5 separate regions of the Homo sapiens genome follow, and all the other regions are linked to region 4. The links are contacts of gene promoters, found by promoter capture Hi-C in human tissues and cell types (Jung and others, 2019). All regions are on one chromosome and are shown on one strand. Each heading gives the region's core, a stretch centred on a gene start or on the middle of the fragment in contact. The rest is flanking DNA. Distances are from core to core; before and after follow the strand shown.

Region 1 (4,986 bases), core at 1,580-4,079, 260 kb before region 4:
TGTTTTGGACAGATGAGTACCCAGAGGCCCAGGTTAGAGAATCCTATTATGTGATGAGTTACCCCGAACTTCGGCTAACTTAAAAAACATTACTGTATTTAAAAAAAAAAAAAAAAAAAAAAGGTCTATCTTCATGGTTGTTTTCTGCAACCATTTTGGTAAATTCCAGAATTACACATTAATTTATTTGGTGTAAACGTTGCTCTTGCTTTCTATAAAAATAGCTCTGGTAAAGGAAATACCTAACTTCTAAATTAAAAATTTCAGATTTTGAGAATCTGGATGGTAACCCGGGCAGGAGGAGCTGAGTAGGAAAGGGAGCAGAGTGATTTGGGGGATGAGCCAGCCATGTGACCCGGGGCTTCAACTTTCATAGCCCAAATGAGGAGTGGTGGCTAACTTCCCTCGCAGATTAAAGTCCACTATGAGAGGGCCAAGCTTTGGCTTCGTTTCCTGATCACCCAGGGGTTTTTGAGTTCTCCTAGTCTCATTGGGCCCTGAGGTTTTTAAAGACCAACACAGTGCAACTGTTAGTGACCAAGAATGTGTTCAGCATCAACATTTCACTATCCGTCACCCCTGCCAGGATATCACATAGCCAGATTTTTCTTAAGAATACAATCAATGTTATTTTTACATAAAATTATTTAACATTGGATTTTTGCAGAAATATATATATATATATATATATATATATATTTTTTTTTTTTTTTGTAGAGACTGGTGTTGCTCTGTCACCCAGGCTGGTCTCGAACTCCTGGCCCTAAAGCTATCCTCCTGTCCTGGTCTCCCAAAGTCGTGGGATAACAGGTGTGAGCCACCATGCTGGCCAGACTTTTTTGAGTAATGAAAATGTGTGGGAATAGGTGTTTTGGGTTCTCTGAATTTTCTGATTAAACTACCACTGGAAAACTAGGTTCACTCATCCTATGAGATGTATTGAGGCCCTGCTGCATGTAAGGGCACGCGTGTGTGTGGGGGGGGTGGGGAGCGGTAAAAAGGTCCAGCCACGGGAGGCTATTCCAGGTCTATCAAGCTCAGGACACAGTGGAGGTTACTTTATAATCCTGATGTGCAGTTTTGTCCTCTGAATGGTTGGCATAGAGAGCAGAGCTGTAACAGACAGACACATCAGGCCTTATTTCAGCCCTCCAGTTTTTAGTTCTTGGGGAAGATGCCAAGTCTCAGTTTCCACCCCCATAAAATGGAGTCTCTTCTTACCGGATTGTGAAGAGGATTAGAAATAAGGGTGTAAGGTGTTTTACACAGTAAAATGCTAGTAGCCATTTAGTAATTGATAGCTGTAACTTATTATTTTTTGGATAGAGTCTTGCCCTGTCACCCAGGCTGGAGTGCAGTGGCATGATCATGGCAGTCTCAACCTCTTGGGCCCCAGCGAACCTCCCACCTCAGCCTCCTGAGTAGCTGGGACTATAGGCATGGACCACCACACCAGGCTGATTTTTATATTTTTTGTAGAGATGGGGTTTCACCATGTTGCCCAGGCTGATCTCAAACTTCTGGGTTCAAGCAATACACCTGCCTTGGCCTCCTAAAGTGTATTAAGCTTCTTAAAGGGTAGATAAATTCAGAAGTTTCAGTTGAGACCCAGTAAACTTAAATTTCACTAAAAATTTTATTTGCCAAGTACATAAAATTTGGGGAGAACCTCCCAAAAATTAATTAAGCTACTTAAAAAATAACTGAATGCTTTTTTTTTTTTTTTTGAGATGGGAGTCTCACTCTGTCACCCAGGCAGGAGTGCAGTGGCACGATCTCAGCTCACTGCAAGCTCCACCTCCCAGGTTCACGCCATTCTCCTGCCTCAGCCTCCTGAGTAGCTGGGACTACAGGCTCCCGCCACCACGCCCGGCTAATTTTTTGTGTTTTTAGCAGAGATGGGGTTTCACCGTGTTAGCCGGGATGGTCTCGATCTCCTGACCTCGTGATCCGCCCGCCTTGGCCTCCCAAAGTGCTGGGATTACAGGCGTGAGCCACTGCGCCGGGCCCCAACTGAATGCTCTTATACCCTCCACTTTCATCCATTCCAGGCCACAAGAAAAGTGTATCATCGGGGCCTGGCGCAGTGGCTCACACCTGTAATCCCAGCACTTAAGAGAGGCTGAGGCAGGTGGATCACTTGAGGTCAGTTCAAGACCAGCTTGGCCAACAGGGTGAAAGCCCATCTCTACTAAAAATACAAAAAAATTAGCTGGGTGTGGTGGGCACCTGTAATCCCAGCTACTAGGGAGGCTGAGGCAGGAGAATTGCTTGAACTCGGGAGGTGGAGGTTGCAGTGAGCCGAGATCACACCACTGCACTCCAGCCTGGGTGACAGAGTGATGAGGCTCAAGTCATGTTTTTCTAGGCACAGATTCTGGGACCAGCCAGCCTGCCCGCCCAGGTTTGTACCTTAGCTCTGCCTCTTACCAGCAGTGTGAACTTGGCTCAGTTGTTTAACTTAACCTCTCTGTATTTCAGTTTGCTCATCTATAAAACGGGGATGATAGTATTTTGTAAAGGTTAAATAAATTAATATATAGGTAAATCTTTTAATACAGTACAAGGCATATTGTAAGGGCTAAGTGTTCACTGTTATCATTGCTACCATACACTCTGTGTAGACAAACCATAGTTCTCGTAAGCAAGCTAGCAAAGCTTGAGCCCTGGAGAGGGCTCAGGACCCAGGCCTATTCCTGCCTCCTAAGGAGGCTCTAGGTTCTCAGGGCACCTTGGTTCCCCTCTGCAGATGACTGTTATCCCTTCTTCCTCCTTTCCTCACTATATATTCCAGGCCTCCAATACTCAACAAATGTTTGGTAGCAGCCCAGTGGTTTTCAGGATGGAGAAACTCATATTCAGAGGGGCTTGGGGACTAAGAGGAAACCCACGCTCTTCAGTGATTTCAGTCGGAGCCCAGTCCCGGAGCCCTGCCTCCCCTCTCTATTGTACCCCTTCCTCCATGCTGCCGCCAGCATCCTGGGTGACCTCCAAGAGCTGCCTCCTGGAGTAAACAGCAGAGGCCGGGTGGGAGTGCAGGGATGGGGCATCTGAAGCCCCAGTTGTGATGACCAAGGTGCCACCAGCCTGCTGAGGTGGAGTGAGAGGGAAAACACGGACTCTACTCCCTCACCCCACGTAGCTTCTGCTCCAAATAATTAAGCTCCAGTTTCCTCCCTGATGAGTTTTGGTGCTGACACCAAAAGGAAACACCAGGAGCCCGGTACGACTCTGCCATGCCCAGAGCTCAAGCTTCGGAGGCATTACTGAGAGGGGGAGAGAGCGTTCCTTGGGCGTGAGTGAGGCCCAGGGCAAGGAACCCCTCCTCTGCTCTGCCCTTCTGGTTCTCCTCAGCTAATTTGTTCAAGTTTGGAGAATGCCAGTAGTCACCTGTATCACCAGTGGGCCTTCTCAGATGCAAGACTTAAAGCCAGTAACTTTTAGACCAGTCTCCTGGTTTCTGTGAGCACCAGATCCTTGTGTGGAGCCTAGATGATAAACTACGTAACAGAGGACCTTTGAGGGCTCAAATGCGGTAAACAGCTCATTCTGCACTAGTGCTCTGTCCAGATGGTGCCTCATCACCTTGGACTGCAGCGGTTGGTTTATGTAAAGGTCTCCTCCTCACTCCTTGTTTCTCACAGGCAACTACCATGCTTCATTCACCTGGCACATGACAAGCATTCACGTAGTTAAGTGCAACTGACCGTCAGGTCAGGTCTGGTCTACAGATGGGTTTTATTTTGCTTGCAGAGTATGTAAATTTTTTATTTGTTGCGATCACATCTCGTACAAAAATCTGGATTCCCCAGATTCTCTGGACAATTTTGAAGTTGGGGCATTAGGGTCCATCTTCCTGCATGGTGACAATCAGCACCTAGGACAGGCTGCCCCGTTTAGATGGATGCTGTCCACTGTGCCTGTCCCCATCACTCCCTCCTCTCACATGGGAATTGCCTCAGCTTCCTTCATTGATTTGACCTCCCTGGTCTCTATAGACAGCGGAGTTAGCAGCTCCTGTTGGTGACTTAGGCAGGAATGGAAGAGGTCTCCATCGGCCCCACCAAAACCAGTTGTCAATACATGCCTGTGGCAAAGGCAGCATCTGAGGCTTGCCAGGCAAACAGCAGCTAGAAGACGCCTCTGGAGAGACCCTTGGTCAGCAGGTATTCTAAACAACCCAGCTATTTCATGGTAGTCAATAGCACGGATGTGTGGTTGATTTGGCTGCACTCAATCCTTTTTCTAGTCCAGTCTCTGGTGAAAAATAGGCGAGGGTATGCCATTTGTGCAAGAAGGGGGAAAGGTAGGCACTTGGCTTCACTGAACCACCATCAGGCATCAAGGAAAAGGCTTCTTGGCCTTCCCATCCAAGCAAGCATTCTAATCATGGTCACCAGGAAAGTGGCCAAGACACCCAACAATATAAAGAAAGGGTGGTGGGGGTGACAGCAGGTCATTCCAGGCTGAGGCCAGGGCATGCAGAAGCATGGAGGTGCAGGCTACTGGGGTCTATGAAGGGCCTAAGGATGGGGCAGGAGGAACAGCTGGAGCGATGGCATATGCCATGTTAAGAGAGTAAGCTGTGTGAGAAACCAGGGAGTGAGGATGCAGGGGAACAAGTCATGGCTTGAGGCTTCTGCTTGGAGAAAGAAAGACAATTCACTTTAATAGTAATTCCCAAGATGGAGAGGCACCATCACTCACCCTCATTTTTTATTTTTATTTTTTTTTTGAGATGGAGTCTCGCTCTGTTGCCCAGGTTGGAGTGCAGTGGTGTGATCTCAGCTCACTGCAACTTCCGCCTCCTGGGTTCAAGCGATTCTCCTGCCTCAGCCTCCTGAATAGCTGGGATTACAGGCGCCCGCCACCATGCCCAGCTAATTTTTCTATTTTTAGTAGAGACAAGGTTTCACCATGTTGGCCAGGCTGGTCTGGAACTCCTGACCTCAAGTGATCCACTCACCTTGGCCTCCCAAAGTGCTG
Region 2 (4,525 bases), core at 1,999-4,498, 320 kb before region 4:
AAGGCAGGGGTGACGACGAGAGGGGCGGCTCAGCCCACCTCCCCCGCTGATCTGTCGGGAAAGGAGGAAGAAGGGTCATGAAAGCCTCACACACCGCTAGGAGGGGGCATCCTGGAGCAGGGGGCTGGATCAGGACCCGGCTGGATGGGAAGGAGCTGGGTAAAGGGAGGGCACCCGGGTAGGGCGTGGCCCGGGCTGTGCGGGGAGCGGGGAGCGGGGAGTGGACTCAGGGGGAGGGGTCAGCGTTCTGGCTGGCCCGGGGGCACGTGGCCGGGGGGCAGGGTGGGAAGAGGGTGGGATGGTGGGGTGCTGGCTTGGGGCCAGGTCAGGCATCAGAGGCACAAAGTAAAGGATACAGAGAGAGGGGAAGGGAGAAAGGGAGAGACAGAGACCTGAAGCGGGAGGGCCGAGCGGCAGGGCGGGAGGCGAGGATAGTGGGTGGGGCTCGGGCTGCAGGGCTGGAGCCTGGGGGATCTGGAGCACAGGGGCAGGAGGAAGGGACCGGAAGGATACCTGGGCCTGCAGGGCGTTCCCTGCGGAGATTGATTGAGTGAAGACTGCGACGTCCACCTTCAGGGCTCTCTCTAGCTCCCTCTTCCTGTCTCCTATCACTTGCTCTGGGGGAAGCCAGCGGGTTGTTTTGAGCTGCCCTCTCCTTTGGAGAGCCCCACCTGGCTGGGAACCGAAGCCCTGAACCAACAGCCAGCAAGAGCTGAGGCTTGGCGACCACCAGCGCGTGAGCCGGCTGTGGATGCCCGGACCCGGTGCAGCTGAGAATGGCTGCGGCAGGCCTCATCAGCGATCCTGAGCCGCAGCAGCCTGAGAGCAGCTTCCCGGGCTCCTGACCCTTGGAAACTGGGAAATAGATGGGAATGCGGGTTTGCTGCTTTAAGGTTCTAAGTTTTGGGTGTAATCCATTATGCAGCAATAGATACCTAATAGTCTGTGGTTTTTTGGAACCACTGTATTTTCCCCATACTGCTTATCTCTTAACTAGTTTTATGTGAGATAGAAAAATAGGCCGGGCACAGTGGCTCACGCCTGTAATCCCAACACTTTAGGAGGCCGAGGCAGGAGGATCACTTGAGCCCAGGAGTTCCAGACCAGCTTGAGCAACATAGGGAGACCCGTCTCTACAAAAAATGTAAAAATCAGCCCAGCGTGATGGCACACGTCTGTGGTCCCAACCACAAGAGAGGCTAAGGTGTGAGAGCCACTTGAGCCCAGGAGGTTAAGGCTGCAGTGAGCCAAGATTGTGACATTACACTCCAGTCTGGGCTGCAGAACGTGACCCTGTCTCAAAAAATAATAATAATAATTTGTAGCATATTTAAGGCACTGCTATAAATTTTTTAATTTTCTACTTATTACAACTAAACCTAATCTTAAATGATTCTATAATAAAGACTGGAAATAAGAATAGAATGGGAAATTCGTTTCCTATTCTTTCTGTCTGTCATTCTAGCTTTGACTTCCATTTGGAAGGCCACCTCATGGTTCAATACAGTGGCTGGAGCTCCAGAGAAAAGGTGCTCATCTCTCAGCCGACAGCTCCTTTTTTTTTTTTTTTTTTTTTTTTTTTTTTTTGAGACAGGGTCTCATCTGTCATCCAAGCTGGAGTGCAGTGGTGCGATCTTGGCTCACTGCAACCTCCACCTCCCAGGTTCAAGCGATTCTCCAGCCTCAGCCTCCAGAGTAGCTGGGATTACAGGCGCCCACCACCACACTCAGCTAATTTTTGTATGTTTAGTAGAGACAGGGTTTCACCATGTTGGCCAGGCTGATCTTGAACTCCTGATCTCAAGTGATCCACCCACCTCGGCCTCCAAAAGTGCTGGGATTACAGGCGTGAGCCACCACACACGGCCTGACAGTTCCTTTTAAGGAGTCTTGGAAGCCTCCTCCACGCTTCCACTTAAACCTCATGGGCAAAACTGAGCCACAGGCCCACACCCTGCTTAGGGGAAGTTGGGAAATATACTTCTTCACCTGGGCACATTGCCCCCTTGAATAAAATTGGGGTTCTAGTGTAACGTGGACCTTGCATTTTTGGAACTTATTAGAACAAGTCAGCTCTTTAAAAAATTGTGAGACAATTGGGGAAATTTAAACAATAAGTAGTATGTTATGATATGAATAAATTATGATTTTTTTTTTTTTAGAAAGGATCTCACTCCATTGCCCAGGCTGGAGTGCAGTGGCACAACCATAGCTCACTGCAGCCTCAATCTCCGTGGCTCAAGTGATCCTCCCACCTCAGCCTCCCAAGTAACTGGGACCACAGGCGCACGCCACCATGCCCAGGTAATTATTTGGGGTTTTTTTAGATGTGAGGTCTCACCCTGTTGCCCAGACTGGTCTCAAACTCCTGAGCTCAAGCCATCCTCCTGCCTTGGCCTCCCAAAGTGTTAGGATTACAGGCGTGAGCCGCCACACCTGGTGATTATTTTTCTATAGGTGAGAAAGGTATTGTGTTTTGTGATAAAGGTATTGTGTTTTATATGATATTGTGCATATGTATATATTTACTAGTGTATATGTTCAAAAATCACCTGTTGGAAATACTTACTGAATTTATGGATGAAATTATATGTCCAGATTTGTTTCAGAATAATCCAATAATGGGGTGGGAATGTAATAGAAGAAACAAGGTTAGCCATGTGTTAAAGCTGAATGACGGCTATGTGGCATTCTTTATACCATTCTCTGTTTTAAATAGGTTATACATTTTTCATAATAAAAATTTCTTTAGTCTGTTTTTTTGTTTGTTGGTTTTTGAGATGAAGTCTCACTCTGTTGCCCAGGCTGGAGTGCAATGGCACAATCTTGGCTCACTGCAACCTCTGCCTCCTGGGTTCAAGCGATTCTTCTGCCTCAGCCTCCCGAGTAGCTGGGAGTACAGGTGCGTACCACCCTACCCAGCTATTTTTTTTTTTTTTTTTTTGTATTTTTAGTAGAGAATGGTTTAGTAGAGAAGGGTTTCACCATGTTGGCCAGGCTGGTCTCAAACTCCTGACCTCAAGTGATCCACCCACCTCAGCTTCCCAAAGTGCTGAGATTATAGGCATGAGCCATTGCACCCGGCCTTTAGTCTGTTTTTAAGTAAAAGTCTTAAGGTCTATATTTGAAATTTTGCAATTCTAAAAAATCAGGATTCTATTAATATTACTAAGGAATAGGAGAGGTTGGCTTTACCAACATATAGAACAGGCTCTGTCACAGTGACTAGCAGTGGACCTCAGTCCTTAACTGGCAGAGATGGGCCAAATGCCCGGTGATCTGATGTCCTCCCTCCAGGCCTTGCCACCAGCTAGACCCCTCAATTGCCTGGGACTTACTGGATCCTGTGTGTGGCCAGGTTTGCATTCTAGGCCTTGGAGAAAGGGGTTTAGCTGGAGGCATGTAAGACCCTGGCCCAATCCCCAGCAGTTTATAACTTATTTGAGCAACCATCACAAAGCTACAACACCCACACTCCAAGTAGTCACTCCAAGATAGCGGCTAAGTACGTGGCAAAGTACATGTGTGTTCTTTCAGTGAGAAGGGTGAGGCCAAGGTGTGACACCTGGAGGAGGAGGCAGGGATGATAAGGAGAGGAGACCCAACTGAGAGAAGAGCATGGGATCAGGAGGCTTTGCTGAGCCTCGCTGCCAACTGCATGGCCAGAAGGCCGAGGGAAACAGGTTCTGTGCCTGTTTCTGGCCCTAGCAAAGGAATGTGTTGTTCAGGATAAAAAGGCGAGCCACAAAGTCTCCCTGTTAACAGTGACAGTCATAACAACAGCAACAGCAGCTAGTGTTTTAATGTTTCAGGCACCCAGCTAAGGGTTTAACTTACAGCAAGGCCATGAGGCTGGTATGATAACCCTGCAGTGGACACCTGTTATTTCTGCCTACCCAGCATCTGTTCCCCCTTCTTCTGGTATCAGTACTGCAATGCTATTTGAGGGAACAACCCTGCCTCCCTCACCTCATCCAAGTGGTTCTTGGAAGCTAACTCCAAAACTCCCCCTCCCCGCAGTGGTGGGGCCCTCTGACCCAGCCAGCCAGTCAGGTCCCCTACTCCGTTCAGAGAGTAGCACATGACTGGGGCTTCTGTTGAAACCATTGGGAAAGTGAAGAGCCTTTTCCCTCTGGGACTGCAAAGCTCAAAGCTGGTGAGACTAGAACCAGGTTGCAGAGAGGCTGCCTGAGAACCTCCCTGGACTTCTCCTTCAGGGGAAAACGTCAAGCTCCTTCCTGTCATTTGCAATCAATAATCCTGACTAATACACATCTTTAGTATTCAGGTGAGGAACAGAAAGGTGCAGTTATGAGCCCAAGTTTACCATGTCCTCTTAGAGTCTGCAGTAGCCAAAATGGGAAAAGCGGTATCTTGACACTTAGGAAGAGAGACTTCCAAAAGTGCAGATAAAAGAATAAATCTAAACCAAAGCTTTAAATAGAAGAAGGTGGCCTTCGATTAAAGATGGCCAATGGCCAGGTGTGGTGGCTCACGCCTGTAATCCCAGCACTTTGGAAGGCCA
Region 3 (5,182 bases), core at 2,683-5,182, 360 kb after region 4:
AGACCCACCACAGAGGAGAACACAGTTGGGTACCTCATCACCAAGAGTGCTCAAGGACCCCAGGTTGAGCTGCATCTTGACAGGCCAGTGTCCATGAGGAAGGGAGGATGGGCATCAAGCCTCTACCCTGTGGGGTTTGCTCTCTCACTCACCATCCAATAAACATTCAGTAAGCACCCAATTTATGCCAAACACAGCTGGGCACTGGGGATCCAGAAGTGAATAGGGCCGTGCCCACCCTCGAGAGCCCGAAGTCTAGAGGGGGAGACGGAGAAGTAAACACAATTGCAGCACAGGTAAGGGATGTGACAATAGAAGAATACAGAAGGTGCCATGGGAGCCCTGAGGCATGGCTGCTAGGGAAGCCTGGGCTGAGACACAGGGGCTGGAGGTCTGAGCTTCTGGGCTCTGCCTGACTCAAAAGCCAGCCAACTGCTGCCCTGAGTGGGAAAAGGACCAGCGAGGAAGGAGGTGGGCGGCACTGAATATTCCTGACAACACATGGCCAAGCTGAGAAAGCAGGCACCACCCCAATATCTGCACGGAGCTGTCCTGCAGAGGGAGGTGAGGAGAGGCAGCTGCTCTGTAGCCACCCTAACTGATTTAAATGCAACATCTAGGATCTTAGAGCAGCTACTCCAGGCCATGGAATCCCCACAGTCAGTAACCCAGCAACATGATTCTGGGAAGAAAATCAGAACTCCCAGGTCAAAGGGGAAGTGAGATTTGAAACATGAACAGTAGGAACTGGTCCCAGTCCCCCAAAATTCATTAGTTTTCTGAGTCAGACTCCAAATGCCCCAAGAGTCAGGGCTTCTAGAGCAACAGCAGACGTAGCCACCATCACCACCAGCACCACTATTCAGAGCCCAGAGGATGCCGGACACCTTCCTAGTGGGTTCCAGGCACAGACACAATAACCACTGCCATGCGGCAGCTCCAGAAGCCGGCCAGAGCATGCACTCTGCCTGCAAAGGGTGTGGGCTGACCATCATCTCATCCATAGGTGCTTCCTGGGCAGAAGAGCAGAATTTGATTAGGATGGTGGAAGTCTACAAAAAAGAAAGCATGGGAACCAGTCCCTGAAGAGGAGCTAGGAAGAAAGATGGCCCCCTGATCTGGGGAGGCAGCATTTTCTCTCCAGCTGCTCTTGTATGAATATACCTGTGCAGCACTGGGTTTGGGGGAGAAGGGACATTCAATAACACCTGAAAAGTACTGTCCCCTAGGAAGGGCAATCAGGACACAGGGAGATTCATCCTTAGATCCAGCTCTAGGTCTTGAAGAAAGAAAACAGTCCCCAAAATGATTCATTCATCCTTAAATAGTTCACTGAGGCAGAAATTGTTTCTCCTTTAGAGGAGAAAGATTAAGGTCAGAGAGACAGATACATTGGCTTAGGGTCACACAGTAAGTTGGTGCCAAAAAGATGCTGAGCCTCTTGTCTTTCAGTGTGCTATTTCTAGAGCCTCTGATTTTTTATGAGTCTACTGTAGGGCCAAGAAGGGGCTCTATTCTAATTTGGGGTGGTGCTAGCTTGGCCACCCACGTCTTCTGACCTTGAATGAAGCATTTTTACCAAGGTAAATGGGTCTGTGGAGCCAAACTCTCTCCTGGCTGAGATCTCTCAAAGTCGTTTGTCCGATAAAAGGGGGGTAGGGTGGAGGTAGGGGGTAGGGAAGCTCGAGAAAAAAAAAATGACCAGGAACACAAGTGTAACAGATGCACCCAGCTGTTGTCACTGGCGAGCACAGACAAGGGTGAGGTACCAATGGCTCCAAGGGAGACAGTCTCGGCAGATAAAGGAAGTCAGAGTGACGACCTAAAGTCCCTGAAATGCTAGTGCTGGCTCCGAGGATGTCACGTCACTGGCCTGGCACACTCAGTGAGCACAGAGACTTCACTGATACTTGCCCCTAAGTGGGGAGTCTCTTAGTACATCCCCCAGCACTGGTAGAGTGGTAAGGGATTTTCTTGTGTTTTTCCCTAACCTCCAGCTGAAGCAGAACCTAGACTATGGGAACTTGGGTTGACTGGTTAACTACTAATACTGCCCATACCCCAGCTATAGCAGCAGCCATCTGTGCTGAGGACTTCCCCCAGCGGCACTGTGGTTCAGTAGAAAGGTCACCAGACCAAGCCTGCTAACCAGCTGTTGGACCTTGGACAAAACATTTAACATCTCTGTGCTTTAGTTTTCTACATTTTATAGACATAAACACAGATGCTGGACAAGATGTCTTCTAAAATTTTTTTCCAGTTTTACAACTGAGCATTTGATAGGAGCACAAGTTTCATTTTCCCCAGGAGTAGGATGGCTGAGTGCGCTGTCATCACCACCCTATGGGATTTCTCTCATTTGTCCCAACAGGCCAGCACTTATGGGCTTTGTGTCTGCACCTCACCCCACGGGCCCTGTGAAACCTTTCCAGCAAATGGCTTAGATGTCTGTTCTGCTCCCTCCCCTAGGAAACATATTTTAGACTCAATTCTTCCCTCCTGCAAGTCTGAACTTTAGGTCTCCAGCTGAAGTGGGCAAGGATGGTGGGCTCCAGAAGCAGCAGCTCTGGTGTGGTAGGAGCCAGAAGAGGAGGTGAATGGGGGAAGGATGTCCCTATGTTCTCACACCCCAGGACCTCCAGGACTCTCTAGCCAGGAAACAGGGTCGAGCTGGCATTGCATGATCTGGTTCAGCTCAATTCTCAGCTTCAGCAGTCTTTCTGCCACCCCTGATCACACTGGGTTGGATTTGTGGGGGAGGGAGTCAAGGCCTGCAGACATGAACATACATGCTTAGGTCGGTCAAGTCAACAATGAACGGCAGAGTGGGATGGGAATCCAGGTGTCCGGAGTCCCAGCCCAATACTTTTTCCACCCCAAGCAGAAGATTCTGAAAGGACCCCTGGCCCTCCGGCCCAACACGGGGTCCTGTTTAAAGACACTGGTGATTGCCAGGCTCCAGGGGTGAAGTCTGGTCCTGAGAAGGGTGGCAGGGAGGGGACAAAGTTTGGGGCAGTGCTGGGATGGGAAAGACATCTGCACCTGGAGGCCATTCTTCCTAGACTTTGGGGGGGTGGAGGTGGGGGTAGATGAGGCCTGCAAAAGGAAGAGATGATGCCAGTAACCCATCCTCTCTGAGGTGGTGGAGAGAGAGGTTTGGGTTTTTCCTTCCTCTTCTTTCTTTGCCAGCCGGGCCTCCAGGCCCCCAGGCCTGAAAGTCAGCCGCCACCCCCGACCCCCATCATGAATGTGTCAGTGGGTCCGCCTTGGGCCAACAGGCTCCCTCAAACCCACATTTCTAGCCTAACACAGACCCTCCTCCGACGCCCCGAGAATACCCATCAGTCTTTACTGATTCCCTGGCATACCCTCCTCCCTACAACGCCCCCTGCAGACGCGGCGTCCCCGGGGTGTCCCTCCCCAGGATAAATTCCCCCAAAGTGCCGTCAGCCCAGAAAACTCGGCAGTGCGGCTCCCGCGCGTGGGGCACCCCGGGCCACCCTTCCACCCCGCGGGGGGACCCCGCCGCCCAGGTGCCCTCGACCCCGAGACTCACCCAGAAGAGCATGTTGAAGAAGAAGAGCAGGTATTTCACCAGCGGGCTGACGAAGGAGAACTCCTCCCCGGAGGCGGCCGGCGCCCGGGGTCTCCGCGCCATGGCCCCGCCGCCGCCACCGCCCCCGGGGGCCTATTTCCCAGCGGCTGCCGGCCGGCCTGTGTGCCCCGCGCCCGGGGGCATGAGCCGAGCCGCGCCGCGCAGGAGCCCGGCCGGCGGGGGAGCCTGCGCTGCGGCGGGAGGCGCCCGAGCCGGGGGGCCGGGAGCGGCGCGGGCCGGGGAACCGCGCCTGGAGCTGCTGGAGCCGCGGTGGGCAGCGCGAGCGGACGAGACTCACCCGCGGCCGCAGGACCAGCCCGGCCAGCCAGGCGCCCAGGAAACCCGGCCCGCCCCCGGCCGCTCATTGGCGCGACGGCTGGAGCCCGACTTCCCATTGGCTCGTGGCTGATGTCACTAAGTATCCAGCCATCCCTCTCCACCGAGAGTCGGGGGAGACACCTGTTCTGTGAGGGATAACTTGTTAAAGGGTCAGCGGTTCTGCCTCTCCCCTACCCCTAAGGGAAAGCATCCAGGCTGCAGCTGCTCAAAGGAACAAGAGTGAGGAGAAGGAATGCACAGTGCATCCCACACCCACGTCCTCCGCCCAGCTGCTGTGCACATATGCAAACACACATACATTAAAATCAACAAGTACGCACACCGTGTGTTGAGCAATGCGCCGAAAGCTCTGGGAACGCGGGAGAACAGAAACAATCCCTGGGGGATGACAATAAAATCAGGGAGACAAAACTAACCTACACATAACAATTAGACCAAGGGTAGATGCAATCTTGTTTAGTAACTATACATTTTAAATGCTTATTTCAGAAGCTCTACAACCCAACAGTGGAAATTTGGAAACATCACCGCCAATCCCGCCATCCTAATTCATTGCTGTCTCAATTCCCGCCCCCGCAGCCCCTCTTCCCTTGGTCTACTTGCAGACACCGTTTTTAACATGCTGATCCGGCACACACAGGTTGAGTGCAGCGTAGCTGGCGAATATATTATGCTGGCTACCCTAACTAATACAAGTTGAACCTCGGGGAGGGAATCTGATTCCACCATAATTAGCTGCGTGAAAGCTGCAAGCTACTTAATCTCTCGGAGCCTCAGTTTGTTTAATGTTAAATGGGAGAGTCCTGACCTAGATGGCGATTTGAGGATTAAATGAGATAATGCATGTAGCTCACTTAGCACATGGCTGGCACATGGAAGGCTCATCAAAGGCATTACAGTATTTCGTTTTAGCAGAATTAAGAATCCAGTGTGGAAATATGATAACCGCACAAATAATTATAATACGTTTGGTAGAAGGTTAGTGAAGATAGCGTGGCAAGTGAAATTAGGGGAGGATGGGATTTAGAATAGTAGAGACGGAGGGGAAACATAATCCAGGTGGATTAAAAAAAAAGGGGGTGAACCAAAGCCTGGAGGTGCAAAAGCACGCCATGTGTTTCGTGCAAAATAAGCAGACTGCTGTGGCTGGAGCACAGGGTATGCTTGGAATAGCAGTGGGACATAATGCTGACCGATGCCGTTACATGTGGAATTGTGTTAAAACTGCGGAAGTAATTGAATATCAGA
Region 4 (4,875 bases), core at 1,695-4,194:
AGAAAAAGAAAGACCTCCCTGACACCATGTCTATATTCTGTCTGTAACTGGAGTGACCATATAATTTATTGCCCAAATCAAGATACTTCAACAAATATAAACAAACATAAACTGAGACTGTCCCAGGCTAGGGACAGGGGGAAGTACAGTGGTCTGTCTTTAACAGTCTCCCAGCAACCCCAGTAGAGTCACTGTCCATCTCCTTCCCCGCACCACTTTTCACTAGTTAATAGTAATTGTTGTTTATGTTTATTGTTTGTTTCCCTCACCAGAGATTCTGTCTATAAATTTACCACTGAATTCCCCAGCCTACACCAATATCTGCCACACTGCAAGGATGCATAAATATCTGCTGAGTGAATGAATACATCACAACTGAGATGCAATGCAATAACAGGATTTAGAAAGCAAATGTGGATTTCTGCTTTTCTGAATTTTAAGATGCCTCCTTCATTCATTCAACAAGTATTTAACAAAAATCTACTGTGTCCCAGGCCCTGTATTAGATGGGGAGCAAAGGAGATCTCACGATGCTTACAGTCCAGTGAGGTCTGAGGAAGACACTAGTCACCTAATCACAAATGCATTTACTCACGACCCATGCTGTGAAGAAAGGGCCCTATTGGCCAGGCATGGTGGTTCACACCTGTAATCCCGGCACTCTGGGAGGCCGAGGCAGGTGGATCACTTGCACCCAGTTTGAGACCAGTCTGGGAAAGATGGCAAAATCCGGTCTCTACAAAAATTTAAAAAATTAGCTGGGCTCAGTGGCACACACCTGTAGTCCCCAGTACTCAGGCTGCTGAGGTGGGAGGACCCCTTGAGCCCAGGAATTCAAGGCCAAAGTGAGCTATGTATGATGCCATCGCACTCCAGCCTGGGCAACAAAGCAAAACCCTATCTCTAAAAAAAAAAAAACAAAAACAAAGAAATTAATAAAGAAAGACCCTATAATGCCTATAACACATGGAATTATAATAGCACAAGATGGGCAAGGGCTGACCTCATCTGGGCCATCAAAGGAAGGGCTCCCTAAGCGTGGCCTGTGGGCCGAGAGTAGGGAATTCCAAGACCAACAGCCTATGCAAAGTCTCTGAAGCCGGAGAGAAGGTGCACAAAGAGACGGAAACCCAAAAAAGGCCAACATGGCCAGCCCACAGGCAGCCAAGGGGGCCAGTGAGAGCAGCTAAGGAAGGAAAGGTAGGCAAGGTTCCGCTCTGGCTTGCAGGCTCTGTGCACTAATGTGTTTGACCCTCATTCAAGGAGCATGAATTAACTGGCATTTGCTTCAATGGCTATGTACAGCATTCTGCCTCAGTTCCCTGGGCCCTGAAAGAAATGGCAGTTGGCTGGGCACAGTGGCTCACACCTGTAATCCCAGCAATTTGAGAGGCCAAGGCGGGCGGATCCCTTGAGCCCAGGCGTTTGAGACCAGCCTGGGCAACATGGCGAAACCCTGTCTCTACTAAAAATACAGAGATTAGCCAGGCATGGTGATGCCTGCCTACGGTCCGAGCTACTTGGGAGGCTGAGGCGGGAGGATCACTTGAGCCTCAGAGATGGAGGCTGCAGTCAGCTGTGATCACACCACTGTACTCCAGCCTGTGTGACAAAGTAAGACCCTGTCAAAAAAAAAAAAAAAAAAGGTAATAGCTCTTTACCTTTAATAGCTCATGGAATGACTCTCAAACCAAGAAATTTTTACTTAATCCTTTTACACGAAACAAACTGGAAAGAACACAGAAACTTAATGATTTCTACACTAGAGTCTAATGAGGAATAAGGCTTTCCAAGGAAAAACAGGCAAAGCACCAGAGGTGAGGTGCAAAGGGCTGTGGGCGCTGAAGGAGCGATGGGGAAGCAGGAGGCAGGGTCCTTCTGATCCAAGCCTCAAAGAAAACGGATCAAGACAGGGAAGGCGCAAGGGGCTTCCAGAAGAACGCGGGTTTAGTGTGGGATGCAGGGTTTTTGTTCGTTTTGTTTGTTGTTGTTTAGCAGAGAAGATATGGCAGAGAAAGCTCGAGGTTGAGGCCCCTTTAGCAAGGGCTCTGTGCGCCCAGCTCAAGCGTGCAGTACTTAGTTTAGCAGACAATGATGCCTCCCTGAGGACTTGGGGCAGGGGCTGGAAGGTCACAGCCCTTCTGGAAAGAGCAGCGAGGGTTGGAAGGAGGTCGTAAGTGACTGGATGAGGGCTGAGAACAGGAATGCTGTTGACAGCAAGGTGGTGGTACCAGGCTCACTCTCTGCTTCCTGAGTCTGCAGAGCAGTGGAGAATCCCGCGCGGGCACCCAGGGTGGCTACGGCAGCTAACAGCTCGGACCCGTCACTGTGGGCATGGCCTGGCGCCCTGACGTGCCACACCACGGTGCCACCCTCCCTTTATTTTCCACATCAACCGTCTGGGTGTGGGGGCTGCTCAACAGGACCACGACCTAAAACCTGGAAAGACGGCTGGCCTGACTCCGCGGCTGCTGCGCCCCCAGCAGGCGCGGACCGCCGGGCACCCCTTGTCCCTCCATCTTTTCGCCACGCGTTGAGGTCGACCCCAGGGAGAGGCGGTGACCTCGGCGCCCGCGCCTCTCCGGGACAGCCTGGGGCTCCACGGCGCGCGCCCTGGCCCCGGGTACTTTAGGGAGACGGGGATTACCATGGCGATTCTCAGCCGAGCAGGCAGGCGTGGTGGACTCTCCCGATCCCGAAGCCCTTAGCATCCACCGGGGCCGCTGCCCCCAGCGCCCGTTCCCCTAGCACCCCCGGCCCCTTCTCGGCCCTCCTCAGGGAACCGCCACGGGCCCAGCCTCACTACGCCTCCCCGCCACGCCTCGCTGGGAGGAGCGCGGCCGGCTCGGGAGGCAGCCAGCCGCGGAGCCGCCTGGACGCGAGGCACCTGCTTGCCCCACGCGGCACCTAGGCCGCCGCAGCTGTGGGCGCTGGGCCGGCGTGCGCCTCGGGGGCGGGGCCGCGCGCACAATCACCGGGCGTGGGGCAGGGCCTCGCCGTGGTTACCGTTGCCAGGGCAAAGCGGCAGCGCGCGGAGGGTGAGCGGAGCGGGGTTCCGGGCTTGCGCGCGCGGGATGGGCCGTCACCTAGTACGAGGCCGACCGCGGCCTCCAGCGCCCGGAAACCCAGTTCGGCGCTTTAGCGTCTGGGTTTGGGCTGCCGGAGCGGCGGGCGCGGGGCGAGGGGGCGGGCGCGGGGCGAGGGGGCGGGCGCGGGGCGAGGGGGCGGGCGCGGGCGGCGCTCCCACTGGGGTGGCACTGGGGTGAGAGCGCAGGCTAGGCCCGCTCACTCGGCCAACCTGGGAGAGATCATCGGAGAAGCTCTTTTGGGAAACGAGCATAAGGACTGTGACGGTGAAGGGAGAATATCATGGGAAATGTTTGCAAAAGAGCCGGATAAAGAGAGTAAGGGCCCGAGAGACTAAAGGGGTGGGGAGGGAGTTCATGTGCAGGTAGGATTGGGCGAGAAAGGTACAGTAGGTACAGTTTTGCCTCCAACCTTGCCAGTTCCAGCCTCCCTCCCTGCAGGTGAAGTCTACACTTCGGGTGGTACGACTCATTCTTTTTTATGACTGGTCATTCCTTTTTTTTTTTTTTGAGACCGAGTCTCTCTCTGTCGCCCAGGTTGGAGTGCAGTGGCGCCATCTCGGTTCACTGCAACCTCCGCCTCCCAAGTTTAAACCATTCTCCTGCCTCAGCCTCTTGAGTAGCTGGGATTACAGATGCGTACCACTATGCCCGGCTAATTTTTGTATTTTTAGTAGAGATGGGGTTTCGCCATGTTGGTCACGCTGGTCTCGAACTTCTGACCTCAGGTGATCTGCCCGCCTCAGCCTCCCAAAGTGCTGGGATTACAGACGTGAGCCACTGCCCGGCCTATCATTCCTTTTTATTCAACAGTTATTGAGCATCTGCCACGTGCCTGACACTCTTCCAGGCCCTGGAAATTGAGCTCTGAATGAGGCAAAGTCCTTGTTCTTTTAAGGGGTGATTTGGGGGAGGTGGTCGTGGCTGAAATGGAGGGCCTGGCAGACATTAAAAGTGATAGGGACAGTATGGCATATTGCATTAAATTGATGTGACCACTGGGTGCTCTTTTAGATTGGTGACTGGGGAAGGCCTCTCTGAGGAGGTGACGTTAAAACAGATCTGGATGACAAGGAGCAGTCAATTATGCCAAAATTAGGGACAGGGGGAGGAGGCTAGACCAAGAAGCAGGAGTAGGGTCCTGGAAGGCTCTGCAAGGATGTGGTGTTTTGTTTGCTTTCTCTTGAAAGACAAACTGGCTTCCAAAGAGGACTGTTTATGTTCTAGGTTCTCTTACATATGCTTTCCCTAATCCTTCATTAACAGAGCAAACCCAACTTCCAGCTACTTTTAATATGTCTGTGAGTTTTTCTTATGAGTCCATATGCCCTGGATATGGCAAATTCTCCTGCCCTCCACCTGCACTTTCTTCTCTTCTTGCGCCTGTCTTCATCCCTGGATGGGGCTGGCCCACCCCAGCCGCTTACACTTCTCTGGGTTATCTCAGCTCTCCCAAGGTTACCCCTATGGGATCACTCCCAAATCTGTTCCAGCCCTGCTTTTCCTGAGCTCCAGATCAGAGATCCAGAGCCCTGCTACAAGGTTGTTTTGTTTTCTTTCTTTTCTTTTCTTTTCTTTTTCTTTTCTTTTCTTTTTTTTTTTTTTTTGAGATGGAGTCTTGCTCTGTTGCCCAGGCTGGAGTGCAATGGCACGATCACTGCTCACTGCAACCTCTGCCCCTTGGGTTCAAGCAATTCTCCTGCCTCAGCCTCCCAAGTAGCTGGGATTACAAAGCATGCGCTATCACGCCCGGCTAATTTTTGTATTTTTAGTAGAGACAGGGGCCAGG
Region 5 (4,898 bases), core at 2,399-4,898, 380 kb after region 4:
ATACCAGATTTGCTATTTTTTTCTTCAGATTCTTTTTTTTTTTTTTTTAACTCAAATCCAGCAGAGTTTTTTCATGTGGTTCTCAATGAGACTTGAGAAGAGAAAATCAGAATTCAATCCAAAAGCACAGCTTTTCTAGAGACATAAATATAATCCTCCTCTCTCATGCCAAAAATAACAAGGGGGCAGAGGTTAGATTCTAGAGGAAAGAACATTGAGTGTGAACTGAAACCTTTCTAGTTACAGATCTACCACTAAGTAGCTGTGTGACCTGGACAAGCCCCTTAATCTCTCTGCACTTCAGTTTCTTCCTTTGTAAAATGGCAGCATTGAGGCTTCCTGGGAACCCTGGCCTTGATATTTTCTAAGCATCTTTGAAGCTCTGAGGTTTTATGGCTCGGTGAATTGTAGAATCTGAGGAGACTGATTTATAAGCAAGTTGGCACGTTTTTTAAGCCCAGTCATTCCTTTGGTGTGTGCAAGGGAGAGCCCCTGCTCAGAGTGTCAGGAGCCATAGCACATTGGGATGTAGACTGAGCATGGCCCACTTCCCAGAGACCCCAAGGCCTGCCTTAGGCCCACCTCTGATGGTGGTGGTTGGTTGGTGGTGGTTAGTTGGTTAAATGAAGGGTGAGATCCTGACCACTCACTAAATGCTGAACTCTTGATAGATTAGGAGGAAGCTCTGCTATCTGTGGGATGAGGCACAGCAGATGATGTGGTTTGGCTGTGTTCCCACCCAAATCTCATCTTGAATTCCCACATGTTGTGGGAGGGACTGGGTGGGAGATAATTGAATCATGAGGGCAGGTCTTTCCCATGCTGTTCTCATGATAGTGAATAAGTCTCATGAGATCTGATGGTTTTAAAAATAGGAGTTTCCCTGCACAAGCCCTCTCTGTGCCTGCTGCCATCCATGTAAGATGTGACTTGCTCCTCCTTGCCTTCCGCCATGATTGTGAGGCTTCCCAAGCCATGTGGAACTGTAAGTCCATTAAAGCTCTTTCTTTTGTAAATTAGCCAGTCTCGGGTATGTCTTTATCAGCAGTGTGAAAACAGACTAATACAGCAGATGTCAGATTGGTTCTTGGAATGGAAGGTAAGCGAACTCTAGTGTTTACTGAAGACAGGGCCTATGTAGGGATTGGCAGGGTAGGGTGGTAGGCCCTATTTAGCAGTACAGAGACTGACCCAAGGCACTTTTCTTGCTGAGTTCAACCTTCTTTTGCAACCCTTTCTTCTGGCAAGTGCTTTCTGCCCAGTGGGGAGGTGAAAGGGTCCCTCACCTTCATGAACCCCTTCTGTGTGAATATACCCTCCAATAAATCCTGGCTCTTCTTTCCATTTCCAATGACTACTTTGAGAAATTAGGATGTCAGTGGTTCATCTTGTCTCATGCAAGCCTGAATTATGTATTCTTTAAGAACAGTGACTATGATCCATCAGACTGTCTTCCACCTGTCATTCAGCATGGCTTTGGCTCTGAACTCTCCACCAACCTTTTTCCTTCCCTGCAACACACACATTCAAAACTAAAATAACCCATTACCACCACCACTAACAACCCCCCCCCCCAACCATCCCATTATAGATCATATCCTCCCAGGAAGTTTTTCTTTGTTCCTAAATTAATTCATACCAATGTGGTGATGGCCACTCAGGCTTGTTACTTGTCTACCTGCCCTACCACGACTCTAAATATGTATTTCCATTTTAACAGGAGATGTTGGATCCAATTTGTCAAAAACTATCTCATTAAAGGAACAAACTTGTTTCAGCATCAGACTTATGATGTGATATTTTTGTCTTAATCCCTCAAAGTACTGAGAGAAGGTTGGGTACTAGTGAAGTCAGAGCTATTAGGGGGCACCCTGGCTAATCAGGCCTTCCTCTGGGCCAGCAGTGCCATCCTATTTATACCTACAGTTTTAGCATTCAGAACAAAATCTTACTACACAAAGAAATTTATAGATTTAATGCAATTCCTATCAAAATACCAACGACATTCTTCATAGAAATAGAAAAAAAATCTTAAAATGTATATGGAACCACAAAAGACCCTAAATAGTCAAAGCAATCTTGAGCAAAAAGAAAGCTGGAGGCATCACACTACCAGACTTTAAAATATCCTACAAAGCTGTAGTAAGCAAAACAGCATGGCGCTGGCATAAAAACAAACACATAGAACACTGGAACAATAGAGAACCCAGAAATTAATCCATGTATCTATAACCAACTGTTTTTTGACAAAGGTGCCAAGAACCCTTATTGATAGTCTCTTCAATAAATGGTTGAGGCAAAACTGGATATTCATATGCAAAAGCATGAAACTAGATTCCTGACTTTCATCCTATACAAAAATCAACTCAAAGTGGATCAAAGACCTAAATGTAAGACCCAACCCTATAAAACTACTAGAAGAAAACATGGGGAAATGCTTCAGGACATGGGTCTGGGAAAAGATTTTATAAGACTTCAAAAGCATAGGCAACAAAAGTAACAATAAACAAATGGGATTATATCAAACTAAAAAGCTTCTACACAGCAAAGGAAATAATCAATAGAGTGAAAAGACAATCAACAGAATGAGAGAAAATATTTGTAAACTATTCATCCAACAAGGGATTATTATCTAGAACATACAAGGAATTCAAACACTTCAATAGCAAAAAAGCAAATAATTCAATTTAAAAAATGGGCAAATGGGCCAGGCATGGTGGCTCACACCTGTAATCCCAGCACTTTGGGAGGCCAAGGCAGGCAGATCATTTGAGGTCAGGAGGGTGGATCACTTGAGGTCAGGAGTTGGAGACCAGCCTGGCCAACATGGTGAAACCCCCTCTCTACTAAAAATATAAAAAATTATCCGGGTGTGGTGGTGGCACATGGGTGTAATCTCAGCTACTCGGGAGGCTGAGGCAGGAGAATGGCTTCAACCTGGGAGGCAGAGGTTGTAGTGAGCTGTGATCGTGCCACTGTACTCCAGCCTGGGTGACAGAGCAAGCCTGTCTCAAAAAAAATAAAAATAAATAAAATAAATAAATAAAAGGGCAAATGATCTGAACAGATATTTCTCAAAAGAAGACATACAAATGGATGGTCAACAAATATATAAAATAATGCTCAATATTACTAATCATCAGGGAAACACAAATCAAAACCATCAAGAAGTATCATCTCACTCTGGTTAGGATGCTATTATCAGAAACACAAAAAAATAACAAATGCTGGTGAGGATGTGGAAAAATGGAACTCTTATTCACTGTTGGTGGGAATGTAAACTAGTACAGCCACTATGGAGAAGAGTTGGAGGTTCCTCAAAAAACTACAAATAGAACTACCATATGATACAGCAATCCCACTACTGGGCATTTATTCAAAGGGAAAGAAATCAGTATATCAAAGAGACATCTGTGCCCCTATGTTTATTGCATCACTATTCACAATAGCCAAAATATGGACTCAACCTAGGTGTTCAATAACAGATGAATGGATAAAGAGAATGTGGTATACGTACACAATAGAACACTATTCGGCTATTAAAAAAAGAATGAAATCCAGTTATTTGAAGTAATGCGGATAGAATTGGAGCACATTATGTTAAGTGAATTAAGCCAGGAACAGAAAGTTAAATACTGCATGTTCTCACTCCTTTGTGGAAGCTAAGAAAAGTTGACTTCATAAAAGTAAAAAGTAAAACAGAGGATACTAGAGGCTTGAAGGGCAGAGGGAAGTGGGAGTTAGAGAGATGTTTATTAAATGATACAAAATTACAGCTAGATAGAAGGAATAAGTTCTAGAGTTCTATACCAGTGGTCCCCAACATTTTTGGCACCAGGGACTGGTTTCATGGAAGACAATTTTTCCACAGACCAGGGAGTGGGGGATGGTTTCAGGATGATTCAAGCGCATTACATTTATTATGCACTTTATTGCTATTATTATTACATCGTAATATTAATATGTAATGAAATAATCGTACAACTCACCATAATGTGGAATCAGTGGGAGCCCTAAGTTTGTTTTCCTGCAACTAGACAGTCCCATCTGGGGGTGATGGGAGACAGTGACAGATCATCAGGCATTAGATTCTCATAAGGAGCCTGGCATGTGCAGTTCACAATAGGGTTCGCACTCCTGTGAGAATCTAATGCTGCCATTGATCTGACAGGAGGCGGAGGTCAGGCCGTAATGTGAGCAATGGGGAGCAGCTGTAAATACAGATAAAGCTTCACTCAGTAGCCTGTTGCTTACCTCCTGCTGTGTGGCCCGGTTCCTAACAGGCCATAGACCGTTGTTATGCGACCATGGCTCAGGGGCTGGGGACCCCTGTTCTATACCACTGTAGGATGACTGGATGTAACAATATATAGCTTCAAATAGCTAAAACGGGCCAGGCACAGTGGCCCATGCCTGTAATCCCAGGACTTTGGGAGGCCGAGGCAGGCGGATCACTTGAGGTCAGGAGTTCGAGACCAGCCTGGCCAACATGACGAAACCCCATCTCTACTGAAAATACAAAAGTTAGCTGGGTGGGGTGGCATGCACCTGTAATCCCAGCTACTAGGGAGGCTGAGGCAGGAGGATTGCTTGAACCCAGGAGGCAGATATTGCAGTCAGGTGAGAGTGTGCCTTGGCAACAGAGCAAGACTCCGTCTAAAAAAAAAGTAGCTAAAAAATGGATATAGAATGTTCTTAACACAAAGAAATGAAAAATGAGAGAGCAGGACATCTGGTTTCTGAGTAGGAACCTTCACAGTGCCAGTGACAAAAGAGAGAATTAAATATGGGTGATGTTGAGAAAAGCACGAATATTTGTGTTCAGAAGTGTGCCCAGTGCCACACCACGGAAAAGGGAGGCAAGCACAAGACTGAGCCTAACCTCCATGGTCTCTTTG

The links. The method cuts DNA at HindIII sites, captures the fragments that hold promoters and counts their contacts. A contact is called where the count stands out against the background at its distance.
Region 1: a fragment that was not itself captured here is called in contact with the fragment with the promoter of SMKR1 in region 4 in 2 of the 25 tissues and cell types used here (H1 embryonic stem cells and aorta).
Region 2: a contact is called between a fragment that was not itself captured here and the fragment with the promoter of SMKR1 in region 4, in 2 of the 25 tissues and cell types used here (bladder and spleen).
Region 3: a contact is called between the fragment with the promoter of TSPAN33 here and the fragment with the promoter of SMKR1 in region 4, in 3 of the 25 tissues and cell types used here (IMR-90 fibroblasts, adrenal gland and small bowel).
Region 5: a fragment that was not itself captured here is called in contact with the fragment with the promoter of SMKR1 in region 4 in 1 of the 25 tissues and cell types used here (hippocampus).

The regions. Positions count from the first base shown.
Region 1 is chr7:129,757,394-129,762,379 of GRCh38, reverse strand. No RefSeq gene overlaps it. Among named protein-coding and RNA genes, the nearest start is that of MIR182, 11 kb to the left of the region's middle. The HindIII fragment of the contact is 3,652 bases long and covers 1,004-4,655 here.
Region 2 is chr7:129,821,097-129,825,621 of GRCh38, reverse strand. No RefSeq gene overlaps it. Among named protein-coding and RNA genes, the nearest start is that of MIR183, 48 kb to the right of the region's middle. RefSeq lists silencers at 216-295, 366-415. The HindIII fragment of the contact is 7,353 bases long and covers 1-4,525 here.
Region 3 is chr7:129,143,457-129,148,638 of GRCh38, reverse strand. TSPAN33 (tetraspanin 33) reads right to left here and starts at 3,932. Exons shown (of 8, transcript NM_178562.5): 1 at 3,557-3,932. The coding sequence starts at 3,658. RefSeq lists an enhancer at 898-947 and a silencer at 3,810-4,019. The HindIII fragment of the contact is 23,252 bases long and covers 1-5,182 here.
Region 4 is chr7:129,500,600-129,505,474 of GRCh38, reverse strand. It overlaps SMKR1 (small lysine rich protein 1), which reads right to left and starts at 2,944. Exons shown (of 2, transcript NM_001195243.2): 1 at 2,648-2,944. The coding sequence starts at 2,650. RefSeq lists silencers at 2,796-3,135, 3,196-3,245. The HindIII fragment of the contact is 29,122 bases long and covers 1-4,875 here.
Region 5 is chr7:129,117,716-129,122,613 of GRCh38, reverse strand. It overlaps the pseudogene CYCSP20. Among named protein-coding and RNA genes, the nearest start is that of TSPAN33, 25 kb to the left of the region's middle. RefSeq lists an enhancer at 210-379. The HindIII fragment of the contact is 4,977 bases long and covers 1,160-4,898 here.